4 separate regions of the Homo sapiens genome follow, and regions 2, 3 and 4 are each linked to region 1. Evidence: promoter capture Hi-C in 16 types of primary human blood cells and fetal thymus (Javierre and others, 2016). All regions are on one chromosome and are shown on one strand. Each heading gives the region's core, a stretch centred on a gene start or on the middle of the fragment in contact. The rest is flanking DNA. Distances are from core to core; before and after follow the strand shown. Region 1 holds the start of TNFRSF21 (TNF receptor superfamily member 21). Region 2 overlaps ADGRF1 (adhesion G protein-coupled receptor F1). Region 3 overlaps ADGRF1 (adhesion G protein-coupled receptor F1). Region 4 overlaps ADGRF5 (adhesion G protein-coupled receptor F5).

Region 1 (3,242 bases), core at 158-2,657:
TTATATATTGTAGCTTTTTTCCCACTCTAACATTTATAGACAATACTGACAAATGTTTGAAATAATAGATTGGAATTAACCCTCATATTAATTTTAGCTTCTACCAAAGTGTGCATAGAGCAAAGAATCAAAGGACAACATGTTAACTAATAAAGCAAATAATTGGTACCTATGACTTAGCAAGTTACCTTTATTAGCACTGGGTGTTGGATCTTGAAACTGATAGTTTAAAAAGTGTGATTCTTTTGAAATGGGACCAAAGGAGCCTAGGATAAGCCCAGCACCATAGGGCTCCCAATTGAGGGGTGTGGACTGGATGGCTGAAGAGGTAATATCAATACAGTGTGCCATGTGCTGTCAGTACCTAGATGATGGATAACACGATACCAGAAATGGTGGCCACAGTCAGGAGACTCGGCCTTCCCCCAGGTGAAACAAAGAAAAGGATAACAGCTGCTCTCTTACATTCAGAAGTGTGTGAGATACCAACATCCACGAGAATATTCCAGTTCTCCTTCTGAAGCAGAATACTACCTATTCTACCACCCACATCCTGACAAGGCCTTTGGAAATCAACTCAAAAATTTTTAGCATTATTTTTTGGGGGAAGGGTGATTAAAAAAAATCTCAGGGATAATCCGATTCAAAACTCTTGATTTTTAAATTAGGAAAATGCATCTTTTGATACATTTCAAGGAGTTCAAAAGTCCCTCCAAGACCATCCATGGACCCAACACCAATGACTCTGGGTTTTAAATCCTTTTAGTTTGGATTTCCTTAATTGCATTCATAAGCCCATATTAAAATTAAAATATAAAAAATTAAAATCTTTGCCCCATATTAAAATCACCCTGAAAACTTAAAAAACAAACAAACAACAACAACAACAAACCTCAATGCCCAGACCAGATCCTGTCCTGTTCCAATTAAATCAGAGTCTCTAGAGGTGGGACCCAAGAATCAATATATATGTTTTGAACTCTCCAGGTGATTCCACAGGGCAGCAAAGTTTGAGAAGCAACACACAGGTCTCCTTTTTCGTCACGCAGTTGATCTAAGTGCTCTGTGGTCTATTCACCATCGCTCTCTGATTTAATCATCGTGTCCGAAACAATGGAAAGGCGTATGTAGCTGAAATAATTTAGTTGGAATTATCTCGGAAAAAATAAGTAAAGTTAGATCAGGAGTGAGATGCTTTCTCAGCGCTTTCCCTGGGTCAACAGGCGCGTGCAATTTCCTCAGCGAACGCCAAGGGGCACCCTCTCCCTCCCCGCTCTACCTGGAACGCCTTCGCCTTTCCAACCGCACAAAGAGCCCGGCCTCCTCCCGGGTGACATCACAAAGGGCCGGTCCCCCGCCCCTTCGGCGCCACCACGTGTGTCCCTGCGCCCGGTGGCCACCGACTCAGTCCCTCGCCGACCAGTCTGGGCAGCGGAGGAGGGTGGTTGGCAGTGGCTGGAAGCTTCGCTATGGGAAGTCGTTCCTTTGCTCTCTCGCGCCCAGTCCTCCTCCCTGGTTCTCCTCAGCCGCTGTCGGAGGAGAGCACCCGGAGACGCGGGCTGCAGTCGCGGCGGCTTCTCCCCGCCTGGGCGGCCGCGCCGCTGGGCAGGTGCTGAGCGCCCCTAGAGCCTCCCTTGCCGCCTCCCTCCTCTGCCCGGCCGCAGCAGTGCACATGGGGTGTTGGAGGTAGATGGGCTCCCGGCCCGGGAGGCGGCGGTGGATGCGGCGCTGGGCAGAAGCAGCCGCCGATTCCAGCTGCCCCGCGCGCCCCGGGCGCCCCTGCGAGTCCCCGGTTCAGCCATGGGGACCTCTCCGAGCAGCAGCACCGCCCTCGCCTCCTGCAGCCGCATCGCCCGCCGAGCCACAGCCACGATGATCGCGGGCTCCCTTCTCCTGGTGAGCGCTTGCGTGGACCGGGGGTGGCGGCGGCGCCGGAGCAGAAGGAACCGCTCTCCGGGAGCCGGGCGGGTCACCGGGCCGGGGCTTAGGGAGGCGCGGGGCCCGGCCGACTGGGTTACGGGCACTGAGGGGTTTCCAAGGGAAGGCAACACACCAGAGGGCCTCGACTAGGTTATTTGGGGGAATCTCAGGGCTCAGCCGGGGCTGGGGAATGAAGACGAATTGTTTTCCTTGCAGTCTGGCTTTGCTGGAGGAGACGCTAGAGGTAGCCGCCCAGCTTCTGCGCATTTGAGGGCTTTTCCCCCTACTCGGCCTACCTCGCGCTCCCCACGCCCGCAGCCACAGCCCCCCACCCATCGGCCACTGCCCCTCTGCGTGGTGTGGGGCCTCGCCGCGGTGTGGGGCTCCCACGGCCGGCCGAGGCCGGCGCTTTGTTGCAGCTGCAATGTCATGTCGGGATGCTACCGCAGTGGAAGACAGTGGTACCGGTGCGCGCCGGACACCGGAGACCTCCGGGTGCTGTCGCGCGGTGCATTCCCGAGCAGGGCGCAAGCCGCCCCCTCCTCAATCCCTTTACCCTCTCTCTTCCCTCTTGGCTCGGGTGGGGTCTCAGGTTCTGTATGCCGAAATATCACCCTTAGACCCACTCTCCGGCGCCTCCAAAGCGCCGGCTTCCAGCCAGCCAGCGCGCCGGCACTGGAATGGGGGGAGGGGGAAGGAGATGTGTGTGAAGGAAGATGAATTTTCTACAGTCTTTCCGATCCCTCGTTTACCTGTGGCTAGGCAGGTGACCCTGCAGGGTGGTGCAGTCTCCCTCATCGTCTAAGCTGCATCCACATCTCGGGTCAATCATCTTGACCAAAAACTTACCCTCAACTTCCCCCAAATTCCCTCCCTTTATTTCCAAATATTGGGGTGAAGGGGCAAGTTAGGTGGAAGAAAATTTGAGATCAAACCCTTGAGCTTCCCTTGCCTATCTTTTATCACTGCAGGAGGGATGGAAATTCTTAGCTAAAAACCGAACAAAAAAACCCCCAAGAAACAAGAGCTTGTTTTCACGACAGGGCTGTGTAAGGGAAAAGCAGGCTTGCTGTCTCCTTCCCCAAAAGGGCTTAACGCCTGGCCAGCCAAGAACTGCTTAGATCTCAGGACATTGCAGTTGCTATGGCCTGGGAATTCATCCTACAGACACTCTGGTTCCTTGTGTGTGTGTTTTAAGAGGAAGAGAGAGACTAAATAAAAGTTTGTTACTGTTAGCATTTATAATGAGGCAAGTCCCAGTCTCCCTTCAGAAACTCTTTTCTGCCCACTTATTAATGGCATGGCCAAGGTTTATATCTTTG
Region 2 (3,238 bases), core at 613-3,112, 290 kb after region 1:
TTACTAAGCTCCTGCAATGATTACTCCAGTTAACTGGAAGCCCCAGATATTGGTGGAACTGAGCAAAGAGTGAGCCTGAAATAGCCCAGCTTAATTGGGAATACTGGCTCTCCTTCCTGGGACTACAGCAATTCAGGTTATGGCAACACATTACTTATTAAGCACCATCTTTTCACCCAGATCAGGGGCAAATTCTAGGAGGACACACAGAAGAATTTCTCTTGCTGTCTATGAATTAGGAGACTAGTTGTAGAGGCCAGACTGTAATACAAGAAAGAAAATAATGTAATTTCTTCAATGAATGTTGATGAAAGCCTATGTTTTGAAAGATGGGCACAGTGGCTTACACTTGTAATCCTAGCAATTTGGAAGCCTAAGGCGGGCTGATTGCTTGAGCTCAGGAGGAGTTCGAGACCAGCTTGGGCAACATGGCAAAAATGCATCTCTACAAAAAATACAAAAATTAGCTATTTACAGGTGTGGTGGTGTGTGCCTGTAGTACCAGCTACTTGGGGGGCTGAGGGAAGAGGATTGCTTGAACCCAGAAGACTGAGGCTGCAGTGAGCCAAGATCGTGCCACTGCACACTAGCCTAGGTGACAAAAGTGAGACCCTGACTAAAAAAAAAAAAAAAAAAAGAAAAAAGAAAAGAAAGAAAGGAAAGAAAAAGGTGGTCCATGTCTAATCCATCTTTGAAAGATACAAAACTGGATCAGACAGGGATGACACTTATGAGGAGCTTCCCACAGTACCGTGGAGATGTGCATAGATGAGACATACACAAATCAATGTTTAGGAATATGTAAGAGGATGGGAGGCAGATAGGGATAAAGTACTGTAGGAATTTAGAGGAGAGAAAGACTCTGCATCTGAGGATTAGAGAAGACCTTGTGGAAGAGATGATATTTGACTAGGTCCTGAATGAAGGATAAATAGAATTTGTCCACACAGAGAATTGTCCCATTGCAGAGAAGTACTGGCAATGGGTAAGTAAGGAATGTGTTGGAGTTAGCAAGTAGTGTTGCTGTTACGGTCATCGTTTAATTTTTAATAGGGACAATGCTTAAGCTTATTGCCCAGATGAAGATACATTTCAGAGTTCAGTGAATGCCTTCTTTAGTGACACATGAGAGGCCACGCATTTACCTACTTTTAAGGTTGCCTTGATTACCAGCACTTCCCTATTACTGCTCCAAATCTGCAGTCAGAAACTCTGCTTTTATGTATGCATCCTGTGTTATTTTAGGTGAACATTTCTTATGAAAAAAATTTGAAACATCACTGTTGAATAGATGACTCTGAATTGTACTTCTATAATTGTATGCTACTAGTAAATCAAGTTAGAAATTTATTATGTCTATAAACTTATTTTTATTTCCTACAGAGATTTGGGGCACTTTCAAAATTAATGAAAGGTTTACAAATGACCTTTTGAATTCATCTTCTGCTATATACTCCAAATATGCAAATGGAATTGAAATTCAAGTAAGCACTTTCTACTTATTATATAAGGAATCGTTTGCTACACTCAAGTTCAAATGTTTTCAATTCAGCATGTATATTTAATACATATTCTTAATTATTCGTTTTCAGTGAGCAAATAACAAAACAGTTATTTGCTCTGCCCACAGTTGAAATTCCCTGAGTATCTTCTTTCTAGGAAAGTTTAGCAGCTGACTTCTTTGCACTTCTCTTGTGTTCAGTTTTGCTCACTTATTTTAGCAATATACTAAGGCTTCTTGATTATTTTCTCTTTTAATTTTTTTATAAAAAATTTTTATGGACCGGGCATGGTGGCTCACGCCTGTAATCCCAGTACTTTGGGAGGCTGAGGCAGGCAGATCACTTGAGGTCAGGAGTTCGAGACCAGCCTGGCCAGGATGGTGAAACCCAATCTCTACTAAAAAACACAAAAATTAGCAGGGCATAGTGACATACACCTGTAATCCCAGATACTCAGGTGATGAGGCACGAGAATTGCTTGAACCCGGGAGGTGGAGTTTGTAGTTAGCTGAGATTGTGCCACTGCACTCCAGCCTGGGTGACAGAGTGAGACTCCACATCAAAAAACAAAAAAAAATCATGATCTAAGCTCAATTGTCAGCATTTGGGATTTGTTCTATAAAGAAAACTCTGTTGTTAGAGGCTGAAGAGAGTTACTGAGCAAAACTCTCAACTTTATAATAAAGTCACATAAAAACTAGATCAGTGTCCCTCTGCCTAGGATGCTGGCTCAGGTGTAGCTCTAACTGAAGACCCGAGCAAATACTTAATAGATGGATTCGGTCTAAGTACCTGTAAAAATTAATGGCTTGTTTTTCATAAGGAAAAAATGGATTTTGGGTAAATTTATTCTACGATCTGGCATCAAATTCATCTCCTATTCTAAGCAGTTGGTTATTCACAATTTATTAGCAATCTCAAAGGTACATTTTATACGTGTATATGTATGGATATGTGTGTGTGTATGTATACATTCACAACTGTTATTTTAACTGTATTTGTATGACATGCAATTACTTCCCACTGTGTCTCTTTTCTTTGCTCCTTTGCTACTGTTGATTTATTTATTGTCTGTATCAATTTTTGCTCAAATGTCTTTCTGAAGTACGGGAAGAACAATTAACACATTGTTCTTTGTTCTCTTTCTAAGCTTAAAAAAGCATATGAAAGAATTCAAGGTTTTGAGTCGGTTCAGGTCACCCAATTTCGGTAAGTAACACAATGGTCTTAGAAGGGCATCCCCAGAATTGGGCACCAGTTCTGCAAAAGGCAGAGTGCTGTTTTTAGGTGACCCTGACAGAAAACAGGACAGAAGTCATCTTTATAGTAGGATTTTTACTAAGTGAACAAGGATCTGTGATGCTTTAAAAAGTCTGAAGAGTAAAGCCTAGATTCTCACTTAAATGAGTTTAGGACCTTAAATTTTTTTTTTTTTTTGACAGAATGTCACTCTTGTCGCCCAAGTTGGAGTGCAATGGCACAATCTAGGCTCACTGCAACCCTGCAACCTCTGCCTACCGGGTTCAAGAGATTCCCCTGCCTCAGCCTCCCAAGTAGCTGGAATTACAGACACCTGCCACCACATCCAGCTAACTTTTTTTGTATTTTTAGTAGAGACAGGGTTTCACCATGTTGGCCACACTGGTCTCAAACTCCTGACCTCAGGTGATCCGCCTGCCTCGGCCCCCAAAGTGCTGGGATTACAGGCATGAGCCACCACATCTGGCCTAGGACCT
Region 3 (2,924 bases), core at 416-2,915, 270 kb after region 1:
CCACAGATAATCTCATAGAGGCTCCTGGTCAGTGGCTGATGGAAACTGGGACCTGGCATGTTGAGAATGAAAATTCATAGGAATTAATAATAGAAGTGGAATATGCCCTAGCATTTCATAGAGTTAAAATAAATTTCCTATGTGTAGTCAGTTGAATAAAGAAAATGCAGAGATGAGCAGCAATGAGGTATGCAGTCCTAAAACTGCAAACTCTAGTTACATTTTATTGATGAGCATTATCAGATCCTCATGGTGTCTTCTTGGTTTTAGTGCAAATGTCAGTTTTTAATCTCCAGAGGTCCACAAATCTAAAGACTTTAAAGTCCTTAAGAAAATTTTCTTATTCTTTTCTTCTTTCTTGGAAGACAAAACTTTAAAACCTGATAAGAGTTTCTTTATTGTTTTGGGATAAGCAGATATTTATTATACATTTGTGAAGTTGGGACAGCCTGTCATAGTACAACAGATTCACACCTGCAAAGTTTTGGGTAAAGAGAATTTGTGTTAAGCAGATTATATTTTCCATGAACACCTTTTACACTTGTGTTTGTACTGCATGCAGCCCGACTCTACTTGGAGACTTTCCTATGCTTCGTCTCTTAGATAATCAAGCTAATTATTTCTGATAAGACACTTAATGATATATTTCTTAGGCATATCATAGTCTTTTACGTTGTTGAACAAGGTATCAATTAAGCAAGTAATTGGTAAAAGATGTAGATAGCAGTAGAATTTTAAAAATATATTTAGGTCAGAATTTTATAGGAAAAGGGCCTCATTAAACAAGCTTACAGCTAGACAGGGGGAATAAATTCTAGTGTTCTATACCACTGTAGAATGATTATACTTAACAATAATATATAGTTTCAAATAGCTAGAAGGAGAGTATTCAATGTTCCCAACACAAAGAAATGATAAACGTTTGAGATGATGGATATGCTAATTACCCTGATCTGATCACTGTATATCACATATATCAAAACATCACTAGGTACTCTATAAATGTGTACAATTATTATTTGTCAATTAAAAATAAAATTTAAAATAAATAGAATTGATAAAGAATTATCAAGGTGGTCTGGATAAAAAACTGTTTCATTGGGAAAAATAGTTGGCAAACTTGGCTATTCACTTGGAGGAAATGAAAGGAAATCTGAAAACCTAAATAAATTCCAGCAGGATTGAATATTTACTTATTTCGTCCCAAAACCTAAATTAACTTAAGAAAGATTGAAGAATTAAGTGTACTAAAAATAATTTTAAGAACTAACTGTTAGACTAAAATGTAGAAGAATGTTTTCCAATCTTTTTATAGAAAACACATTCTTCGGCCGGACACGGTGCCTCACGCCTGTAATCCCAGCACTTCTGGAGGCTGAGGCGGGTGAATCACCTGAGGTCAGGAGTTCGAGACCAACCTGGCCAACATGGTGAAACCACATCTCTACTAAAAATACAAAAATCAGCCGGGCATGGTGGCGTGCACCTGTAGTCCCAGGTACTCGGGAGGCTGAGGCAGGAGAATCACTTGAACCCAGGAGGAAGAGGGTGCAGTAAGCAGAGATTGCACCACTGCACTCCAGCCTGGGTGACAGGGCGTGACTCCGTCTCAAAACACAAACAAACAAACAAAACCACACATTCTTCACACAACCCTAAGTTTAAAATCCATAATGGGGCTGAGTGTCGTGGCTCATACCTGAAATCTCAGCACTTTGAGAGGCTAAGGAAGAAGGATCACTTGAGCCCAGGAGTTCAAGGCCAGTGTGAACAATATGTCAAGACCATGTCTCTGCAAAAAAATAAATTAAAAAATAATTAGCTGGGTGTGGTGGTGTGTGCCTATAGTCCCAGCCACCCAGGAGGCTGAGACGAGAGGATCATTTGAGCCCAGGATGGGGCTACAGTGAGCTATGATCATGGCACGGCACCCCAGCCTGGGCAACAGAATGAGACCCTGTCTCTAAATACAACCAAAAGTAAAAATGAATAAGTAAAATCCATAATGGAAAAGATTAACAGGTGTGATTTCATGAACATTTTAAACTTTTGTGCAGAAGAAAATAAGGCAAAAGTTTTAAAGATGAACTACAAATCATGAGCAAATACCTATAACAGGAGCGACAAAGACAAAAGAGTTCCTAAAACACAATTTTTAAGAAAAAGATGAACATTCTAATCAAAAAATTTAGGAAAATGACTTAAATAGTCAAGCTGGAAAAAAATACAAATGGTCAGTAAACCCCTGAAAAAATGCTTAAACTTACTGATAGTCAAACACAGGAAAATTAAAACAATAAGGCAAAAATTTTGCCTATCCATTTGGGAACATTAAAAAGATACTGTGGATAGAGTGATGAAACAGGCATTTCTGCACCTTACCAGTGAGTATAAATGGGTACAGGTTAGGAGGTCAATTTGGCCATGTCTAGAAAAACTCAACATATATAAACCTTTTGAAGCAGCACTTTCCTTTTAACTTAGAAAAGTTAAAAGTTAAATCCTGGTTTGCCTGGAATTCAGATGCGTGAAAGGAAGCTTAATAGAAGGGAAGTTTGAGCACAAATTGTGGGAGTTCAAAACTGCTATGATCTTGAGTTTGCTTTTCATTCTGTATGGTGTAGAATCTTGATGGTTTCTGAGGATGAACTGATGTGATATTTTCAGGATAGGTGGAATGCCAGTCAACTAGTTCTATTTCTAGAAGAATCATCTGGGGAATATGATTTTAAAACTTATTTTTACTTTTTAAGAAAATTATAATGAAAATACTATTCATATGTAAAGGGAAACATAAAGAATTAGTGGGTTTTGGTAGGTTTGAAACAATGAAGATTTATCAGTGTAACCATTGAATGAGAAGTCGGAGAAGTATGTTTTACTCCTATTTAAAACAGATCACCCAAGAAGAGTTTGTGACATCT
Region 4 (2,791 bases), core at 135-2,634, 450 kb after region 1:
TTGTGATAGACAAAGGATCGTTATCACCAAGATTGTTTGAGTTTACTGAATAGTTTGTGGTCATTCTCACATGTTGGCAACTAGCCCCTGGGCACCAAAACAGGAAACAATTTAGAGTCACTTTCACCTGACCTTTCCACGCACAAGTACAACCCCTCCAGGGTGCAGCAAAGGTCACCTCTTCTTTTCCCCATCACTCATCTTAGCCAACACATTTTATTCACTTATCTTTGTTCTTCTCCTCTTTCTTTATACCAAATATGGTTTCGCTTCTTTTTCCTAGTAGAACATTACTTATTTAAGATTTATATACAGTGGTTAAGATCTTAATGTTAAAGAAAAGTGTTGGTGAGGGAGGGGTCTCATCAGAGTCAGGGTCCACTGGACATGAGAGATTCCACAGCAAGTGTCATTTCCCCATCCTTGCCTGGTCATGAGAAGAGGTGAAATAGAATCACCTCTAAGGGAAACCAGAAGGAACAAATGCTTAAACATATTGATTAGAATATTCAGGTCATGGGTACCTAGAGTTCCTACTAGCAATTATGTCTTTGGATTATGGCAGTGATTCTCAACCTTGACAGCACACTGGAATCACCAGGGAGGCTTAAAAACCTGCTGATGCCTAAATCCCGCTCTGACGATTCCGATTTACTTAGCCCAGACACTGGTGTTTTCAAAAGCTTCCCAGATGATTCTAATATGTCACAGTTGAGAATCTCCAGATGAAGGTATAAAATTCTGTTAGGAAAAGGAAGTTCCGATTACAGAAGTCAGGTTCATGTGGAAAGCAGAGAGGGGCTTTGGAAAATCAAGGGCAAAATTAAGAAATTGGGTAGTTCTGAAAAGGTGACGGAAAGTAAAGGTAAATGTGAATTCAAACATCAAAATTCTACCTTGGCCTGACCGTATTTCTACTATATTGTCTCTTCCTTGCAATTATCCCTTTATTTCAATGTTTCCAACACAGGGGAAAACATCACATGCCAGGATCCCGTAATAGGTGTCGGAGAGCCGGGGAAAGTCATCCAGAAGCTATGCCGGTTCTCAAACGTTCCCAGCAGCCCTGAGAGTCCCATTGGCGGGACCATCACTTACAAATGTGTAGGCTCCCAGTGGGAGGAGAAGAGAAATGACTGCATCTCTGCCCCAATAAACAGTCTGCTCCAGATGGCTAAGGTGATCCTTAAAGCTTCCACTCTGAGCTCTTGGTGGGGCGATCTATCTGGCTGATCATATTTCTCAGCACTTAGGAAAATGGGTTTGGTGCTGCTTTGTGTTGCTCCAAAACTACTTTTATTTGTGTATTTCCAAAGGAGATGCAACCCTAGAAATGCAAAAAAAAAAAAAAAAAAAAAAAAAAGCCTCAATTCAAATACTAAGACAACTAAGTATGTGTTCTGCTCTCAGACCGACTAGATACCTTAACCTTGACTTCTCAGTACCATGTGTTCCATACCTCCAGGGGGCAGCGGTATTATCCTCTCTCTTATTGCTCTCCTTTGAGTAATTTTGATACCAAGAAAATTGCTATAATCCTTTCAGAAAAAGGAGCAATATAAAAAAACAAGCTTCATCAATTTCTTTAAAAAAAATAGCTGGGCTTGATGCTCTTACAGGTATGAAATTTTCTGACTACTTGGAAGTAACTTGTGCTTTTGAAGAAGCAACTACCCTGCCTCTCTTACCTATAATAGAGGTTACCGCTATGTAACAGGGCAGAAGTTCCTTTCCTTCTGTCAATGTAAAAAAATGGGACCTCCACACTTGATTTGTTGTTAGACTCCTAAAATTCCATGAATTACATTAAAAAATTCTGGTGATGCAACTGGTGAGGTTATAGGTAATGATGACATCTTCAGACAACCAATTCCAAATCCTCTCACCACTGGGTAAATAATTGAAAAAAAGGGTAATACTTATATGTGTTTCATCTAATTAACTTCTATCTCTTCTCTTGTCTCACACCAAATTTATTAAAATCTCTACTATGTGCAAAGCATGATTATAGGTGCTGTCAAGGTAAATGGGCCAAATCAGATCTTTGTCTCTGGTAAAGAAAATAATCGAATTGGGTAGTTACATACACATTAATTTGGCTAAGATAAATTAAGAAGATCTGCTTGAAAAAAATAGGCATCTGAGCTGGACCTTGATGAATGAGGCATGAGAGATATAAATTATCCTAATGAAGAAAGATAGAAATTGTAATCTGAACTCGATGTGGGCCCAAGTCCCAATTCTAGATACCTACATACATTTTCAATGGAAAAGGATCATGCTGCTCTATCATGCTTCCTTTGATTTATCCATTCAGCATATACTTACTGGATACTTACTGTGTGCTGAGTTATATGACTTGTACTATGTTAGGAATTATAGGAATGAGAAGAATGTAAAGAAATGTAGCACATGGTCCATGTTGTTAAGGAGCTTATAATTTAATTGGAGCAATATCAAAATTAGAACACAAGATGACACTACTGGAGATGCCACAAATGAAAGTATGTTATATAAAACCAATACTTACGCATTCAGAGGAAGGAACTTTCCTGGGTTGGAACATCTATCAAATGCTTTTCGTAGAAGACAGAATTTGAGCTATTCTATACGATTAAGTAAGAGAGAGTTAGAAAGCAGAAGTGTAATCATACAGGTAGGGTGACCATATAATCTATCATCTAAGTCGGGACACATTTTGAGAATATAAGAGGGCACTCTTAATAAATACACAAGGAGAAAAGGTATAAACCAGAACAGTCCCTGGAAAATTGGAAGGGTCAGTCACTTT

The links. The method cuts DNA at HindIII sites, captures the fragments that hold promoters and counts their contacts. A CHiCAGO score of 5 or more calls a contact.
Region 2: a contact is called between a fragment that was not itself captured here and the fragment with the promoter of TNFRSF21 in region 1, in 2 of 17 cell types (M0 macrophages and M2 macrophages). The highest score is 5.7, in M0 macrophages.
Region 3: a fragment that was not itself captured here is called in contact with the fragment with the promoter of TNFRSF21 in region 1 in 2 of 17 cell types (M2 macrophages and M0 macrophages); the score reaches 6.6 in M2 macrophages.
Region 4: a fragment that was not itself captured here is called in contact with the fragment with the promoter of TNFRSF21 in region 1 in 1 of 17 cell types (fetal thymus); the score reaches 5.1 in fetal thymus.

Annotation. Positions count from the first base shown.
Region 1 is chr6:47,308,070-47,311,311 of GRCh38, reverse strand. It overlaps TNFRSF21 (TNF receptor superfamily member 21), which reads left to right and starts at 1,407. Exons shown (of 6, transcript NM_014452.5): 1 at 1,407-1,896. The coding sequence starts at 1,801. RefSeq lists enhancers at 1,145-1,439, 1,391-1,570, 1,734-2,456 and a silencer at 1,711-1,940. The HindIII fragment of the contact is 9,028 bases long and covers 1-1,464 here.
Region 2 is chr6:47,020,204-47,023,441 of GRCh38, reverse strand. It overlaps ADGRF1 (adhesion G protein-coupled receptor F1), which reads left to right. Exons shown (of 15, transcript NM_153840.4): 6 at 1,384-1,484; 7 at 2,653-2,711. Among named protein-coding and RNA genes, the nearest start is that of ADGRF1, 21 kb to the left of the region's middle. The HindIII fragment of the contact is 1,585 bases long and covers 1,070-2,654 here.
Region 3 is chr6:47,036,566-47,039,489 of GRCh38, reverse strand. The region is part of intron 1 of ADGRF1 (adhesion G protein-coupled receptor F1); the gene reads left to right. Among named protein-coding and RNA genes, the nearest start is that of ADGRF1, 4.3 kb to the left of the region's middle. The HindIII fragment of the contact is 1,751 bases long and covers 790-2,540 here.
Region 4 is chr6:46,861,276-46,864,066 of GRCh38, reverse strand. ADGRF5 (adhesion G protein-coupled receptor F5) reads left to right here. Exons shown (of 21, transcript NM_001098518.2): 15 at 971-1,179. Among named protein-coding and RNA genes, the nearest start is that of ADGRF5-AS1, 41 kb to the left of the region's middle. The HindIII fragment of the contact is 379 bases long and covers 1,195-1,573 here.